Linked DNA regions of Homo sapiens: region 1 is linked to region 2. Evidence: promoter capture Hi-C in human tissues and cell types (Jung and others, 2019). All regions are on one chromosome and are shown on one strand. The core of a region is centred on a gene start or on the middle of the fragment in contact, and the rest is flanking DNA. Distances in the headings are between cores, read along the strand shown. Region 1 overlaps LINC03036 (long intergenic non-protein coding RNA 3036). Region 2 holds the start of NANOS1 (nanos C2HC-type zinc finger 1).

The links. The method cuts DNA at HindIII sites, captures the fragments that hold promoters and counts their contacts. A contact is called where the count stands out against the background at its distance.
Region 1: a contact is called between a fragment that was not itself captured here and the fragment with the promoter of NANOS1 in region 2, in 1 of the 25 tissues and cell types used here (H1 embryonic stem cells).

What each region holds. Positions count from the first base shown.
Region 1 is chr10:118,798,911-118,804,440 of GRCh38, forward strand. All of the region lies in intron 3 of LINC03036 (long intergenic non-protein coding RNA 3036), which reads right to left. Among named protein-coding and RNA genes, the nearest start is that of CACUL1, 47 kb to the left of the region's middle. The HindIII fragment of the contact is 5,883 bases long and covers 1-5,530 here.
Region 2 is chr10:119,026,404-119,031,724 of GRCh38, forward strand. NANOS1 (nanos C2HC-type zinc finger 1) reads left to right here and starts at 3,311. Exons shown (of 1, transcript NM_199461.4): 1 at 3,311-5,321. The coding sequence starts at 3,399. The coding sequence ends at 4,277. It overlaps LINC03036 (long intergenic non-protein coding RNA 3036), which reads right to left and starts at 3,168. Exons shown (of 4, transcript NR_186540.1): 1 at 2,942-3,168. RefSeq lists an enhancer at 2,588-3,088 and silencers at 2,913-3,382, 3,503-3,712, 4,083-4,382. The HindIII fragment of the contact is 19,263 bases long and covers 1-5,321 here.

The sequences.
Region 1 (5,530 bases), core at 1,549-4,048, 230 kb before region 2:
AAACAACTTTGTGAGGTTTATCTGTAAATTGTGAATACATTTCCTCCACCCAAGAGCCAGTACTCTGCTTGCTGAACAAGGTAAGCTTTATTCCTGCCTCTGAGATGGGAGGAAGATTGGGTGAGACGGACAATTTCAAGAACAAAGACATTAAGCTAAAATGAGTGGTATTCTATCTGGGGAGAAGCGGAAACACATTACCCAAGGGCCTGTGGCATAAAACATAGCTTAGAAGGAGCAGCTGTGGGTTGGTTGGTTTGTTTTAGACAGAGTTTTGTTCTTGTCGCCCAGGCTGAAGTGCAATGGCGTGATCTCGGCTCACTACAATCTCCACCTCCCGGATTCAAGCGATTCTCCTGCCTCAGCCTCCCGAGTAGCTGGGACTACAGGCATGCGCCACCAAGCCCGACTAATTTTTTTATTTTTAGTAGAGACAAGATTTCACCGTGTTGGCCAGGCTGGCCTTGAACTTCTGACCTAAGGTGATCCACCTGATGTCTCTCTCGCCCAGAGTGCTAGGATTACGGATGTGAGCCACCACACCTGGCCACAGCCGTGGGTTTTTACTCTTCTCAGAATATCCTAAAAAAATCAAAGTTTTCAGGAAATTGGGGGAGAGTGCAGGAACAGTCATCGCTTTTCCAACGTAAGATAATTTCCAGATTTGCAACATTCGGGAAATGAGCACAACTCACTCCTCTTTGAGGCAGCACCCAGCTGATGCAGCTCCATTGTGTGGCCAACTGAAAGGGTCCTGCAGTTTTCCTAAGTGTATCCCAGAGTTATTTCTTCATGAAGAGGACCTAAGCCATTCCATTCCATGGTCCGTGGTGCTGCCCAAAAGCCCATCACATGTACGGCCACTGTGGGTGCTTCCTTTTTCCGACATCTGACCCTTTATCCCATTTGGCTTACTCCAAAAGCTCAGCCCATGCTCCCAGGCATGGATAGGAAGGAACCCACTAAAAAAAAAAATGCACTATTCATTGAAAGTGCTAGAACCCGCCAGTCTCCAAATGCAGTCCTTTTGAAAAGGCATGACTCAGTCCTGAGTAACATCTGATACTTAACAAACGTCCATGAGCCATAACACCTCCTGGTGTCTGAGTGGTTTTCCCATCAACCTCTAAAATAAAAGCAAATCAGTTAGCCAGGTGCTGCATATGCTCAGAAGGCTATAGAAGCTCAGAGGTACAAGCACCTGGAGAAAATATATCAACCCTTCTGCATTATAACAACAATTATTGCAGAAATTCTTGTCATTGTCTATCAAAGTGAAATCAACGAACCCCCACAAGTTTCTGTACTGTTTGCTAGAAGTAAAGAGACAAATGAGACAAACAGCTCTTGCCCTCAGAGAGTTGACAATCTAGTAGAAGAAGGAAGAAGCCATCCAAATAACTAGGAAACAAGGTAAAGAGCAGCTTCTGCTCTAAAAAGGCAGTAGGATTGCTGAAGGAGGGGAATGTGAACCCTGGTCTTGCCCTTCAGGCAGTTTTTCATAGTTAATGATCCTGCATTCTCAAATTGCATAGGTATGTCTCAAATATGAGACAAGCCTTCTAATTTACAAGTAAGTGAACAGAAAAACTGTACACAGGCAGTCCTCTGCTTTTGTAAATATGAAAATATGTATCAAATTAACTGTATAGAGTGCAATTAGAGACTTACACATTATAAGTGGTTGTTCCATCCCAGGCAGCACTGTAGAGTTGGTAAGGCTGTACACTACACAAGGGCATCTGACCAAGGGTTAGACTGAAATCTAGATGTGTATCCTGATGTAGAGTTGTACTTATCCAGAAAAGAAAGGAATTCCTTTTCCCAATTTGCACAAGACACCATTTAGCTCGTAGTGGCCCTGATTCTGAGAGGTCCAAAATAGTTTTAAATTCCAGTTACATATTTATAGCATTTTCTTATATGTTGTTCTTTTCCTTTGCCATTAAGTCTACAGTGGACCCACTTAAGTCCAGTAAGCATTCAATTGAACTCAAAGATTGGCCACTGATCTCCATTTTGGAAGCAAGTGTATTAAGCATAGAAAACTTATATTGCTTATTTTTGAGATTACTCTTTTTTTCTACTTTCCACTTGTTTTTGTAAAACAACATGGACAAAGCACAGTAAAATGTTCAAATAGTTACGCATGTTCTGTTGAACAAAGAGAGCAACTGCCCACAGTGAATGGTTGGCTGGCAGGCAGCACCACCTGGGGGCAGCTCAAATTATTTTTCTCAGTAGTTAGTGTATGACAGTCCACATCTGTTATGTCCTGTAACAGAGCAATTAGGGGTGTCAGTGTTTAAAATGCTTATCTGGGCCAGGTGTGGTGGCTCACGCCTGTAATCCTAGCACTTTGAGAGGCTGAGGCGGGCAGATCACGAGGTCAGGAGTTTGAGACCAGCCTGCCCAACATGGTGAAGCACCATCTCTACTAAAATACAAAAATTAGCCGGGCGTGGTGGCGGGCATCTGTAATCCCAGCTACCTAGGAGGCTGAGGCAGGAGAATAGCTTGAACCCGGGAGGCAGAGATTGCAGTGAACCGAGATCATGCCATTGCACTCTATCCTGGACAACAGAACAAGACTTTGTCTCGGGAAAAAAAAATGCTTATCTGATTATCCCATTGAGGACAGCCTCTAACGCCATACCAAACATTAAGTGGGTAACCTCCTGCTTGATGCTGAGAATTCCTGGCAACTTCTCCCCAGTGCCTTTTTCCCTAATGCTTTATTCTCGGACTGGTCAGAGAGTCTTTGAACTCCCATAAACTCCTGTGTCATTCTTGTACACTTACCACATCTCTCTGCCTCTTTGGCATAGTCTGGGAGCAGCCAGGAATCACCTCTCGGCTCCACCTCCATAGCAACTGCCCTCTCAGAGGATCCACCTCCTCAGAGGGACTAGGAGCTCCTAGGTCAGGAAATGGCAGTGGCTGATGTAGCCTGATCTCCACCAGAAGTGGACGCTCCTCTTTGTTGCTGCCTGGTGAAGCGGGGGACTTATTTACTTTCACTGAAGATCTCCTTTAATTTTTTCTTTCCTCCTTCACTTTTCCTAATTTGGTTTTTCATTCATAGATGCATGCCTTTTTTTTTTTTTGAGACGGAGTCTCACTCTGTTGCCAGGCTGGAGTGTGGTGGCACGATCTCGGCTCACTGCAACCTCTGCCTCCTGGGTGCAAGAGATTCTCCTGTCTCAGCTTCCTGAGTAGCTGGGACTACAGGCGTGCACCACCACGCCCAGCTAATTTTTGTATTTTTAGTACAGACAGGGTTTCACCATGTTGGCCAGGCTGGTCTCGATCTCTTGACCTTGTGATCTGCCCACTTCAGCCTCCCAAAGTGCTGTGATTACAGGCGTGAGCCACCCCCCCCCCAGCCAGATGCATGCCTTTATTCCACATCTACCAAGTGACTCCTCGCATGAGGCCCTGTGCACTGGGCACTGCGCTGATAGGCAGGGCGTGGCGCTGACACCCTATGGCGGGGAAGGTAGACAGCAAACAAAACAAACAAACAGATGTGAATAAGGACAGAATGATGCTGTGAAGGACTTGGCCGAGTGTCCTTTGGAAGAGTGGGGAGGAGGACAGAGGGAGGAAAGGCCTCTCTGAGACCTGAAGGTAAGAAGGAGCTGGCCGTGTGGAAGGCAGAAAAGAGGGGTCCAGGAAGAGGCAGAGCATGGGTCATGAGCCCTTAGCAAGGCCTGGAAGAAAGTCCAGACATGTCTGGAGCATGGTGGGGGAAGGGAAAAGGGCGTGGTGGGGTGGCTGACAGGGGCCGCTCACGCAGGCACAGCCTGTGTCCTAGGGGCCCCTAATCCTTGTGGGGCCTGCAGGAGCCTCTGACTCTGGACCTGCTTGCCTTACATCACTTGGTCTGGTCTTGCCGCTCTCAGATACACATAGCCCTTCCACCAAAATTGTATACGTTGATTCAAATGAACATCTATTCCTCTTTGCTTTTTTAAAATTTTATTATTTTGTGTAGAGATGGGGATCTCACTATATTGCTCAGACTAGTCTCGAACTCCTGGGCTCAAGCAATCCTCCCACCTCGGCCTCTCAAAGTGCTAGAATTACAGGCCTGAGCCACCATGCTGGGCCTTCTTCATCTTTTCTACATAGAGATTAAGAGGGTACAAAAATTTGAATAAATTCCACCAGATCAACTTGATTGGTTCACCTTTAAAGAACACTTGAACTCAGGCTACTTTTGAACTGATTTACTGATAAGCATCTTGGGTGCCAAACAATAGGCTTGCCTGATGCTTCAACTTTCACTTGGGAGCTTGGCAGCCCGAAGACCTGACCAGAGACAGAACCTGAGGCAGGACAGAGGAAAGGAGAGGGAGCCGAGGAGGACAGCTCCCCAGAGCACAAAGGGCACACCCTGAACAAAGGGCAAAGGTGTCTCAGGTACTGGTGCCTGCTGGGAAACCAGCCGTGCCCTTCTACCCAGCTGGTGGGAAAGTAGCAGGTACAGTCTTTCTAGCAATTCTGCTGACTTTTTTTTTTTTTTTTTTTTTTTTTTGAGACGGAGTCTTGCTCTGTCTCCCAGGCTGCAGTGCAGTGGCACAGTCTTGACTCACTGCAACCTCTGACTCCCAGGTTGAAGCGATTCTCCTGCTTCAGCCTCCTGAGTAGCTGGAACTACAGGTGCCCGCCATCATGCCTAGCTAATTTTTGCATTTTTAGTAGAGTCGGAGTTTTATCATCTTGGCCAGGCTGGTCTCAAACTCCTGACCTCAAGTGATCCTCCCGCCTTGGCCTCCCAAAGTGCTGGGATTACAGGTGTGAGCCACCGCGCCGGGCCTCAGCTGACATTTCTAATGCAGGTTTCCTTTAATTCTGCGGTTCTACCACTAGGTGCCCCCTAATGGATACATGGACAAAAAAACATCGAGCTGTGCACACGTGACGGTCACTCCAAAAGTTGGAGGCCACCCAAATGACTCTCAGTTTGTCAAAGCAGGCCAAATCAATTTCAGCCCATCCATACAACAGAATAGTCTGCAGTGATTAGACATAAGGAGGCAAAGTTCTAGACTCAGAGTAAAAGACCCTGAAGATATATCATTAAATAAATGGGGGAAAGGCCAGATATGGAATAGTGTACGTATACCTTGCTCCCCTATGTAACTGTTTAAAATGATATATATTTATATGTAGATACATGCATACTTTTTTCTGGTGGGATACATAGGAAACTTTGGGGATGAGGATTGGGGTCAGAGAAAAGCAGGGAGATTTTAATCATTTTTCTAGATCTTTCTGTACTGGTCAAGTTTTTATATCATGCGCAGTTATTGCTTTTATTTAAAGAGTAATAGGAAGAAAGGAAGAAAAGACAAGACACCAGCCTCTATATTGGTAGAAACCAATTCAGTCCTCCCTTAAGCCCTGCCTGCCAGTGGCCGATGTCACCATGGAGAAGGTTACTCGGGAGCCTTCCTTACTCTAAACTCACTGCTCACTTGCTGGGGGAGTTGTGGGACTGGGAAGTTTCTCTGCAGGAGAAAGT
Region 2 (5,321 bases), core at 2,061-4,560:
CGCCTCTCTGGCCTGACCAAGGGGGATCAGACACAGCAGCTGGCAATTTTAAACTTTTCCTGCCAAAGTTATTCTCAGAACTGTGGCTCCCCATCTTCAGAGCTTGAAAAGTCTGCATGTCTTGAAAGGATGCAGGCTGCAGGGCTGTGTGAACCGAGCGGAATTTTCCATTCATAGAATAATCATCTTCATACCACTCTGGGGGGCTGGCGTTCTCGTGGTAAAAGCTCCGAGTTCAGGGTCAGCAAACCTGCCAGGCGTCTGCAGGAGCCCTGCGGCATGGAGGTTCTTTTATTTATTTTTGGTGGAGAAGGGGAGGAAATAAAGGAATGACTTTCTACCTTGCATGCCAACACAAACTTGGAAAAGGATCTGGGTTGGCAAGTGCTGAATATTACTGCCTGGTTTCATGACTTACATCAACCATCGGGGGCTAGAAGGAAGAGGCCGAAACATGGATCTTTAACCCCTAACCCAGAGAGGCGGCCAGAACAGGCCTCACTTCACTGCTTCAGGTCCTTTCCCGCGCCTGCCAGCCAGAGCCCTGGATTGCTCTTTGAGGGCAGGGGCCCCAGCCAAGGCCATATCGCCTCACCTCACCTCACTTCTTTCCAGCTTCCCCTGTGTTGTGCCTTAGAGTTCTGCGGATGCATGCACAGACTTATTGTCTGAGATACCTTGCTGGTCCAGGGTGTAGTGAGAAGGCCACCCGGCCGGGAGTAACAGGACCAGAGTCTTAGTTCTGTCACATAGTCACTGTAGCCTTAAAGAAGTCCTGCTTGGCTGGGTGCGGTGGCTCACACCTATAATCCCAGCATTTTGGGAGGCCAAGGTAGGCAAATCACCTGAGGTCAGGAGTTTGAGACCAGCCAATACGGTGAAACCCCATCACTATTAAAAATACAAAAATTAGGTAGGCATGGTGGCACATGCCTCTAAACCCAGCTACTCAGGAGGCTGAGGCAGGAGAATCGCTTAAACTCAGGAGGCAGAGATTGCAGTGAGCCTAGATCGTGCCATCGCACTCCAGTCTGGGCGACAGAGTGAGACTCTGTCTCAAAAAAAAAAAAAGAAATCCTACTCTTCTCTAGGTCTCATTTTCTTCATCTGTAAGGATTGGACAGAACTGGGTGCAGTGGCTCACATTTGCAATCCCAGCACTTTGTGAGGCCAAGACAGGAGGATCACTTGAGGCCAGGAGTTCAAGACCAGCCTGGGCAACATAGCGAGACCCCCATCTATTAAAAAAGAAAAGAAAAAGGCAAGAAAAGATCGAACAGAATGATCCCAAAGATCCCTTCCCATGCTGACATTCTGATTCCCTCATTCATTCATTCTAATATTAACCAATGCCAGCACTAGGTTCTGGGCATCCCCTGCTGAGCCATTCTAAACCTGCTGGGCACAGCCAAGACCTGTGAGTGTGGCCTCAGGCCTAGTGAGGGCTCATTGTTTCCACAGCCACTGCATGGTCCAGAGTGAGGAAGGAAAGCCCCATCTGCCCCATGAAGCCCACCCTGCCAGGGCCCACCTGCCAGGGGAGGCATTTTCCTGATCCCAGTTCTAGGTTTCATCCTAGAAGAGCCCTCAGTATCTAAAGCCTTTCCTACTTTCAATTTTTAAAAAAGTTGGGAAGTGTAAGACCACCTGCCATCTTCCTAATCAAAACTCATCTTCTGGCTCTTATTCTCCATGGCTTTTACACAACATGTTTTATTCATTTCAAAGTATTTAATTATAATGTTGAGGCCAGGTGTGGTGGCTCATGTCTGTAATCCCAGCACTTTGGGAGGCCAAGGCAGGAAGATCGCTTGAGGCCAGGTGTTCAAGACCAGCCTAGGCAACATAGTGAGACCCTGTCTCAAGAAAAAAAAAAAAGAAAAAAGAAAAATCAAGAAGAAAAAAGAAAGAGTGAGAAAGAAAGAAAGAGGCCAGACGCGGTGGCTCACGCCTGTAACACCAACACTTTGGGAGGCCAAGGCAGGCGGATCGCGAGGTCTGGAGTTCAAGACAAGCCTGGCCAACATAGTGAAACCCCGTCTCTACTAAAATACAAAAAATTAGCCCGGCATGGTGGCGGGCATCTGTAATCCCAGCTGCTTGGAAGGCTGAGGCAGGAGAATTGCTTGAACCCGGGATGCGGAAAGAAAAGAAAAAAAAAGAAAGAAAAGGAAGGAGGGAAAGAAGGAAGGAAGGAAGGAAGGAAAGAAGGAAGGAAAGAAGGAAGGAAGGAAGGAAGGAAGGAAGGAAGGAAGGAAGGAAGGAAGGAAGGAAGGAAGACAAAATATAACATTGAATACACGTTGTTTTTCAAACTGCACATACAACCCACATTTTGACTCAGGCCTCTGGGGCGAGGGGGTACACACACACACACACATCCCAGTCACTGTCCTAGGCTCTCCAGCCATGAGATTTTCCGGCCCAGCCCCAACCCCGACCTAAGTAACCGGCTATCGGCCACCCATTGGCTGAAGTCCCTGAGCACCTGTTGGGAGGAAGGCTGCTGCGTGCAGCCGGAAAGTCCTGCGTCCCTCCGCTCTTACCGCGGCAGGAACCACAGCCTCCCCGAACCTCAGGGTTTGTATGGATTTCGCCCAGGGGAAAGCGCTCCAACGCGCGGTGCAAACGGAAGCCACTGGCTGGTTGGGCGGCTGTGATGGGAGAGCTGCATCCTTCCAACGCGTCCAGCTTTTCATGCTGATGTTGGTGAGAAGGGGGTGGATAGCGGGGATTCTCAGGATTAGGGCCTAGGGCCATTAAAGGCTGGGAGGTGGGGGCGTAAACCTGTGGCCACCCTGACCCCTGTCCTCGGGGGGCCTCACCACCAGGCCGAGGAGACCCAGGCCTGGTCACCTGCTCCAAGCCCAGGCCCGGCGCTCGAATGCGGGCCCCAGCGGCCCTCCCTTCCCGGCCCTTCTCTCCCCTACTTTCTCCTCACCTCCCAGCTGCGCGGAGAACACGCCCCCTCCCCGTGTTCCCACCAATCAGCGTCCGGAGCGGCGCCCGAGGCGCCGGGGGGCTCTGGTCTGCAGCCAATGAGCGCCACGGCTCGAGGCGGCGCCTCGCCCGCCCCCTCCCGGAATGAAGGCCGCCCGACAGCTGGCGAGGCTGGCGCAGCGCGCGGGGCGCGGGAGCCGCGCGGGCTGGAGCGGAGCGCGCACACAGCCAGCCCGCCTCCGCTCCGCCTCCGTCCGGGGCGCGGGCGAGGTGGCCGGGGCGGGGGAACGCAGGGGGCAGGGCCGCGGCGGCGAGGCCGGGGGGCGGGGAGGAGTGGGCCCGATAAAAGGCGGCGCGGCGGCCCCACCCCGCGGCAGGCCGGCGGGCAGGCTCGGCGTGTCCCTTCCGTCCGGCCCGCGCCGGCGGCGGGGAGGCGGCGCGCGGCCCGCAGCCCGCCCATGGAGGCTTTCCCCTGGGCGCCCCGCTCGCCCCGCCGCGGCCGCGCCCCCCCGCCCATGGCGCTCGTGCCCAGCGCCCGCTACGTGAGCGCCCCGGGCCCGGCGCACCCGCAGCCCTTCAGCTCCTGGAACGACTACCTGGGGCTCGCCACGCTCATCACCAAAGCGGTGGACGGCGAGCCGCGCTTCGGCTGCGCCCGCGGTGGGAACGGCGGCGGCGGCTCCCCGCCCTCCTCCTCCTCGTCGTCCTGCTGCTCCCCCCACACGGGGGCCGGGCCTGGGGCGCTGGGGCCGGCGCTGGGGCCGCCCGACTACGACGAGGACGACGACGACGACAGCGACGAGCCGGGGTCCCGGGGCCGCTACCTGGGGAGCGCGCTGGAATTGCGCGCGCTGGAGCTGTGCGCGGGCCCCGCCGAGGCCGGGCTGCTGGAGGAGCGCTTCGCCGAGCTGAGCCCGTTCGCGGGTCGTGCCGCCGCCGTGCTGCTGGGCTGCGCGCCCGCCGCCGCCGCCGCCGCCACCACCACCAGCGAGGCGACGCCGCGCGAGGAGCGGGCCCCGGCGTGGGCGGCCGAGCCCCGGCTGCACGCGGCCTCCGGGGCGGCGGCCGCCCGGCTGCTGAAGCCCGAGCTGCAGGTGTGCGTGTTCTGCCGGAACAACAAGGAGGCGATGGCGCTCTACACCACCCATATCCTCAAGGGCCCCGACGGGCGAGTGCTGTGTCCCGTGCTGCGCCGCTACACGTGTCCCCTGTGCGGCGCCAGCGGCGACAACGCGCACACCATCAAGTACTGCCCGCTCTCCAAAGTGCCGCCGCCGCCCGCCCGCCCGCCGCCCCGCAGCGCCAGGGACGGCCCGCCTGGCAAGAAGCTGCGCTGAAGGCCCGGGCTCCCGGCCGCCCAGGGTCGCCGCCGCCCCTCGCACCGCTAGGTCTGCGCACCATCTCGCCCCCGCCGTGGGGAGGCGTGCGGCTCAGCGGTCGGCTCGACATGGGACGTCGTCCTGGTGGTTTTTGAAAAGCAGCCGACCGTGTGGAGTACTTCCGTGCTGAACGATTGGGACTAGACGCTGAAATCCCCATTTGTCTTCAGTTTCTAGTTTGCACATCCAGAACGGCGAAGGCTGGGTGTGTATTCCACTAACTGAAATATGGCAACTTAGAGGCGCTGTTTATTTACTGTATACGTCGACCTATTTTAGATGCGCATCAGTATGAAATTGTCTCAATCTTGGATGTTTCATTTTATGAATGGAGGCACTTTACTAGGTCTAGAATATTTTTTTAAAAGCCTCTGAACTGAGCTTAAAACTGGCGATTTTATGAAATGTCGGCAAAATGACTATTTTATTGTTTGAAGCGAGTTAATATTCTCAGTTGTCTTTAAAAATCAGTTACTCTAATTCCAGGTGAAGCAAGCCGCTGGTAGCATCACCCTTATGAGAAGTGAAGGTTTTGTAAACTTTCCAGTATTAATTTGGGCGGGTATTCCCCGCTTGTGGCTTGTTTCTGTCCTAGCTGGAGGTGTAAAATGCACAATGTGTAGCAGGTAGAATACAGCTCCTTATCGTTCTATGTACCAGGTATTTTATTACTGAACTAGCAACTAGCCTTTTCCACCTTTAAAAGTTGTGCCAAGTCATAATCATATTGTGTATAACTTGGAAATGGTGCTGTTTAAAAAAATTGTGTATTTATACAGTAACAGTATGAATTCATTAATCTCACCTGTAACTTTCCTACTTGGCATTTTCTCTACACACTCACCCTCTTCCAGTTCTTTAAAAACGTTTATGATATTAAGATCAAAGGGAGGAAGGGAAGACAGCAGTATTAATTCACCCTAGATTACTCAATTTCAGGGTTCCTAGTGGAGGAAAGCCCATTCCAGCTGTTGCCTGTCAAACAAATAGAAGATGGATCTC